Regions from separate parts of the Homo sapiens genome. Here region 2 is linked to region 1. The links are contacts of gene promoters, found by promoter capture Hi-C in human tissues and cell types (Jung and others, 2019). All regions are on one chromosome and are shown on one strand. Each heading gives the region's core, a stretch centred on a gene start or on the middle of the fragment in contact. The rest is flanking DNA. Distances are from core to core; before and after follow the strand shown. Region 1 holds the start of CNTNAP4 (contactin associated protein family member 4). Region 2 overlaps CNTNAP4 (contactin associated protein family member 4).

What was found. Contacts are between HindIII fragments. The study calls those that stand out against the background at their distance.
Region 2: a fragment that was not itself captured here is called in contact with the fragment with the promoter of CNTNAP4 in region 1 in 2 of the 25 tissues and cell types used here (dorsolateral prefrontal cortex and mesenchymal stem cells).

What each region holds. Positions count from the first base shown.
Region 1 is chr16:76,275,985-76,278,834 of GRCh38, forward strand. CNTNAP4 (contactin associated protein family member 4) reads left to right here and starts at 1,417. Exons shown (of 24, transcript NM_033401.5): 1 at 1,417-1,763. The coding sequence starts at 1,679. The HindIII fragment of the contact is 9,673 bases long and covers 1-2,850 here.
Region 2 is chr16:76,480,937-76,483,786 of GRCh38, forward strand. The region is part of intron 12 of CNTNAP4 (contactin associated protein family member 4); the gene reads left to right. Among named protein-coding and RNA genes, the nearest start is that of LINC02125, 150 kb to the right of the region's middle. The HindIII fragment of the contact is 4,754 bases long and covers 1-2,850 here.

The sequences.
Region 1 (2,850 bases), core at 167-2,666:
TAAGTCCTAGGGTGAGAGCAGTAAAACTGGAGTCAGAAAAGCCAAATCCAGTCCTCAGCATTTATTACTAACTCTATGACCTCTTCGAATCATTTAAATTCTCTGTTCTTGTTTTCTCTTGTAAAACAGGAAAAGAAAAAAGATGCATTCTGCTTTGTTTGCAGGCATGAGCTAAACAAGCATGTTTAGTTCTTACGGGTATTTCTGTCATTTTCTCACTCTTTGACAAACCTATCTGATCTTTGACAAACCCACTCTCATTATTCCATAAGAAAGTGGTGTTAAAGGCTTATGTTTCTTCCAATTTGTGATTACCAAGAGGCACTTAAGAACTCCAGGATTTCCATTTGTATAAAATCTAGCACATTATCAGTAAAACATCTTGACATTTATTTTAAATAGATTATTTATCTGCTATGAACCATGTGACATGCTTCTTGTTATGTGATAGTAACTCCATTATTTAGACATTTTAAAATTCCATTCAAGAAACAGTTGTATCCATGGACCAGCCATTCAAAGAGTAATTTTTCTTTAATCATTGATCTTCCAAATTCAACTTTACTCCTCTCTCCTTTAAGTCACCTGAATTACATCGTCACATTGTTCAGTGTTTGTGTGAATGTGTATGCATGTGTGTATGTGGTGGTGGTGGAGGTCCCTTTCTTCAGTATTCCCTCATTTCCTACTTTGGGCCTTTTTGGAAATGTTATTAAAAATTTTGATTATAGAATGGTACTTCATATTCACAGCATGATGCATTCATCAACATAAATCTAGCCAAAGCATTTCATTTGTGGATTTATACACCTGAAGCATTAAAATAAGAAATGTTAATTTCTTGCAGACTACTACCAGATGATTTTAAATATCTGCTAAGCAGGAATGTCTGTTCCCATGTGGGGAATTTCCATAATAAAATCCTGGCACCCTCGCTGAAGAGTACAGTTTTATAGAAACAGAGAAAAACAACAGCAAGTATTTTCCCTGAGGACGGTTTTAGCTACAATTTCCCAATGCTGCTTAGTTATTTCTGTCTTATTTTATGCTTTTGTTTTGAAACATAATGCAATTTTACCTGGATGCACTCCCGGATAATCAGGAATGGCTCAGTGTGTTTTCTGGCTCTTGCAAATGCAAGACCTCCAGAAAATCAGAAGGCTCCACCGCCTTGTCCCTTCCCCCACTCACACCTCCAGCTGGGAGAAAAGGGTTAAGGATTATTGGAAAATAGAAGAGAAGGGAGGGAGCCCCAAGGAGGCCCACGAACGGGAGGCCGCGCCTCTGGGTGCAGCGGAGCTCGAGCGCTGTTGTGTGTTTGGAAGGAAGGATGCTGCTGCCAATTTGTGGGACCGCTGCTGCGAGGAGTGGGCGTGGCCTCGGCGGTGTGGATGCTTGTTAGGAAAGATGCTGAGTGCTTTTCAGTGAGGAGTCAGGGAGGTGTGTGTGAGAGAGAGAGAGAAAAGAGAGAGACAGAGACGGGGAGAGAGAGAGGGAGAGAGAAGAGAGGGAGGAGGGAAGAAGAAAAGACGGAGGGAGGTGAGGAGGAAGGGAGGGGGAGAGACAGAGACCTAGAGGGGCTGAAGACCCAGACAGAGCTGGCAGAGCTACTGAGAAGAGGACTGGAGCGCTCTGAGAGCCTCTCAAGATCTTTTGGGGGAGCCCAATAAATGTGAACATGGGATCTGTCACGGGAGCTGTCCTCAAGACGCTACTTCTGTTATCTACTCAAAATTGGAACAGAGTCGAAGCTGGGAATTCCTGTAAGTATACAGCAAATGATTTAAAACTTGCTGGGGGGCTCTCTGCAAAACTTTGATTCTGTTGGTTTGATGATGATTATTTGCAGCTGGGATTGCTGCAAAGCGTATTGCTGTAAACCAAGCATCACTTAAAAATCTTGCCAATGTGACCGGTTAACACTTGTCTCTCCTCTTGGTCTGGTCAAAATAGGCAAAGTGTCATTTCTCTTTTTGTCTACTCGCAGAATCTTACCCTCTGGTCTTTGAGTATTCATTGAGAATGCCCAAGTTCTAGTAAAACATGAAATTAGCATCTTATCGGGGGAATAGCCTGTGAATATCTTCATTTCTTCTTTTTTAAAGAACTACTGAATTTTATTGGAATTATGTCTAAGAGGAAAACAACTGGCAGACTTTACATTATGCTGCATTGGCTTAGATTTCTGAAGTTTGCAATTGGGCAGACCAGTAGCTGCCTGCATCTTTAAAATAATGCAGGCTAATAACTGAAATGTACTGCAGGCTTCAGGAGCACCAGCACTGGCTGAGGCGAGTCTCAGTATTAAGAGCTGTGCCCTCGCTGCTAAGAGAATGAGACTTAGCGCTCTCCGGAAAGAGGAGCCTCTTCCTACATTTCGCTTAAAGGAAAACCAGTCAGGTGGTCTTTCAAAAGTAGGATTCCTTTGTGGTTGAATGCTTAACTGCATAAATTTGTAATTGAATGTTCTGATGAAATAGAACCTATTTAGGGAAGATTGAAATCTTATTTATAATTTAGATATCATCCATAATAATTTGGCAGACTCCCTTCATCCACTCTTTATTAGAGATAGAAAAAGTTTTAAAAGTTATCTTTGGCTTAAATTCTCTAAATGGGAGAATTTTCCCCTCCTGATTAATGACAAACAAGCTTGGCAAATACAACTTTTTATTTTTTCTTGGATTTTAAAGGAAAAGCTCATTTGCTTTCCAAGAACTGGCTATGAGGCCTGTCCAGGAATTTATGTTGCTGCTGTATCATCAGGCTTAGATTTGGGGAACAGAGGCAGTAATCAGACATTTGCTATGGCATATCACTTGACTATGTTAAGAGTTCTGATATGTGAAA
Region 2 (2,850 bases), core at 138-2,637, 200 kb after region 1:
CAAGTCAGTGAGTCTTGAAGAACAAATTTGAAGGATTCAGCTCTACTGGATATAGGCATTATACTGATTGGCTACGTAAAGCCGTATATAGCTGTCACAAAGATAAACAAATAAACCAATAAAAACAAAATAGAGAATTTATAAACAGACTCACTCATATATGGATAATTGATTTATTGCCAAGGTGGCATTGATATGTAATGAAGGAAAGATGGTCTTTTCAACCAGTAGTGCTGGTGGAATTTGTACTTAAATGTCAGTAAAAGGAGTATTGATCTCCTCCTCATCAAACACACACACACAAAATAGATTCTAGATGAACTGTGCTGTCCAACATGGTAGCCACTAGCAAGTGCCTATTTGAATTCTAATTTAATTAAAATTAATTACAAAACAAAATGACTGCATTTTAAAAATTTAAACTTAAATTTAAAAATTTAACTAAAATAGGATTAAATAACAGCCGGGTGCAGTGGCTCACACCTGTAATCCCAGCACTTTGGGAAGCCAGGGCGGGGGCATAATTTGAGCCCAGGAGTTCGAGACCAGGCTGGGCAACATAGTGAGACCCCATCTCTATTTTTCTTTTTTTAAGTTTACTTTGTCAGTCTCCCTGGCTGCATTTTAACTGCTTAATAGCCTCCCGGGGCTAGTATGGAGTGTATCATTGTAGATGTAGAACCTTGTCATTTGCTGAAAGTTACAATGAACAGTGTTAGAAGTCAATATTTTATGGAGCAAAACCAAAGGAAAAGGGCAAAATTATTATACATTGAGGCAGAGGGTGTTGCAAGGGGAGATTTGGTACTTAAAATTGAAGAACATATCTTTCGGGCAGAGGAAACAGAAAGTACCAAGTTCTGAGACAGATGATCTTACTTACCAGGTGTGTTCAGAAAACAGCAACAAACCTAGGATAGCGGGAGTATGGTGAGTAAGTGGGGCGTAGGAAGAGAGGAGAGAGGCAAGTTGGGTGGGGAGGGGAAGAGTATGGGCTTCATGACAATGTTGTAAGACCTTTGGTTTTTTACTCTGAAATGAGATGAGAAGACACTGAGGAGTTTATTTTTTTATTTTTTTTTTTAATTTTTATTATACTGTAGTTTTAAGAAACGGTGGGATGCAATCTGACTTCCTTTAGTTGGATTGCAACTGCTCCTGGGTTAGGGAATGCTTCTTCAGGAGCATGGGTGGAAAAGAGTGATGAGACTATGCATATTGTACTTTATAAGATACAATTTCAGTATCTTAATTGTATTGGGAGACCATTTCAAGTAATGCAAAAATCCAGGACTGATTGTACAAGATAATAGCACTGTAGATGGAGGAAAGGTGTTAGATTTTTCTCTTTGCATAGCTATGAGGTGTGAGAAAACAAAAAGCCAAAAATAACGACACAGTTTTTGCCCTGAGTAATTGAGTGTTTGAATTGTCATTATTTAAGATGTGATCAGAAAAGGTTTAAGGTGAAAGATCATAAGCTCTGTTTTACACAATTTTTTTTTTTTTTTAGTTTGAGATGTCTGTTTTTCCATGTTCAAACAAGATTCTGAGGAGGCATTTGAATATGGGAGCAACCGCTTCTTTATACTAATGAATGTTTAGTTCTAAAAACTGCAGGTGGTGGCAAACTCTGTGCCAACACATATTTTGGCAGAAATTGCTATAAATTAGTATCTTCAAAGGTTTTTCATTTAACACAACTTGGTAGCTTCTATCTGTCTCACAACCATTGAGGACATTGCCTCATACACCAAAACAGCCCAAACAAATGGTGTTCCTGCATATGTGTCTTCTCAATGAAGCTCTCCCGCCTGTGCAGTACAAATGCCCAGACAGCACTGCAGGTGCTTCTCATCCAGTGCAACCACTGAGTTGGGCCAATGGAAATAATATCATCATGGATCTTCCCAAATGATTCTTATGTGTACTTAGGTTTGGGAATCACTGTTTTAGACTTCATGGTTCTCAAACTTCAGTATGCACTGGCAACTCTGGTATGCGAGAATTAAACATAACAAATGTGAGAGGACTTTACAGAGAAAAAAAGAGAGAAGACTTTACAAGTGTAAGATATGAATTCCAGTGCCAAAATGTTTTATTATTTTTTTTCCAGCTTGGATAGGTTGGATTGTGAGTGAGATTTATGTAACAATCCACCACTGCAAACCTGTAAATTCTATGTTCCCATAAATGCATCCGGATCTATACACATACACATGTTATAGGAAGTTTCATTCTGAAATTAGACAGCGATAGGTTGATAAATATCTCTAGTCTTTGAAGTTTTAAGAAACACACACACACACACACACACACACACACACACACACACACACACATCCATTCTCATTGTTTGCAGTCGTTATGTTCCGTAAAGTAACCAAGAACACTGGATTGGAAAACACTGAACAAATTACTCCTGGGGGAATCACAGTACAATTAGTTTCTTGCAAGCCTCTGGTCACAACGGTCTCATTCACCAATCAATACATAATCTTGTTTTATGTGTGTTTCAGGTTAAAGACACCTTATTTAATACATACTGTTGATTCATTAACATTGAGCTCATGGCCAAGAGCACTGTAGCTCACGCCTGAGCAAAGCTTATCTAACATACGTGTTTTCTTTCTAGGGCTCAGTGCGTGCAACCTTCTGTGCTTAGGAGCACTCGACAACATTTCTGGGAGTAGGGGGCGTTTTAAACAGCAAAATCACCAATGAGTAGCACAAAAATGCAAAAAAATGTGGCACTTAATAGACTACAAATGAGACATTTGTTCATAGTATGAGAGCTGAAACAGGAAAACAATGTTTCCTTGTTCAGCTCTAACGGGGTATGTGAATGTC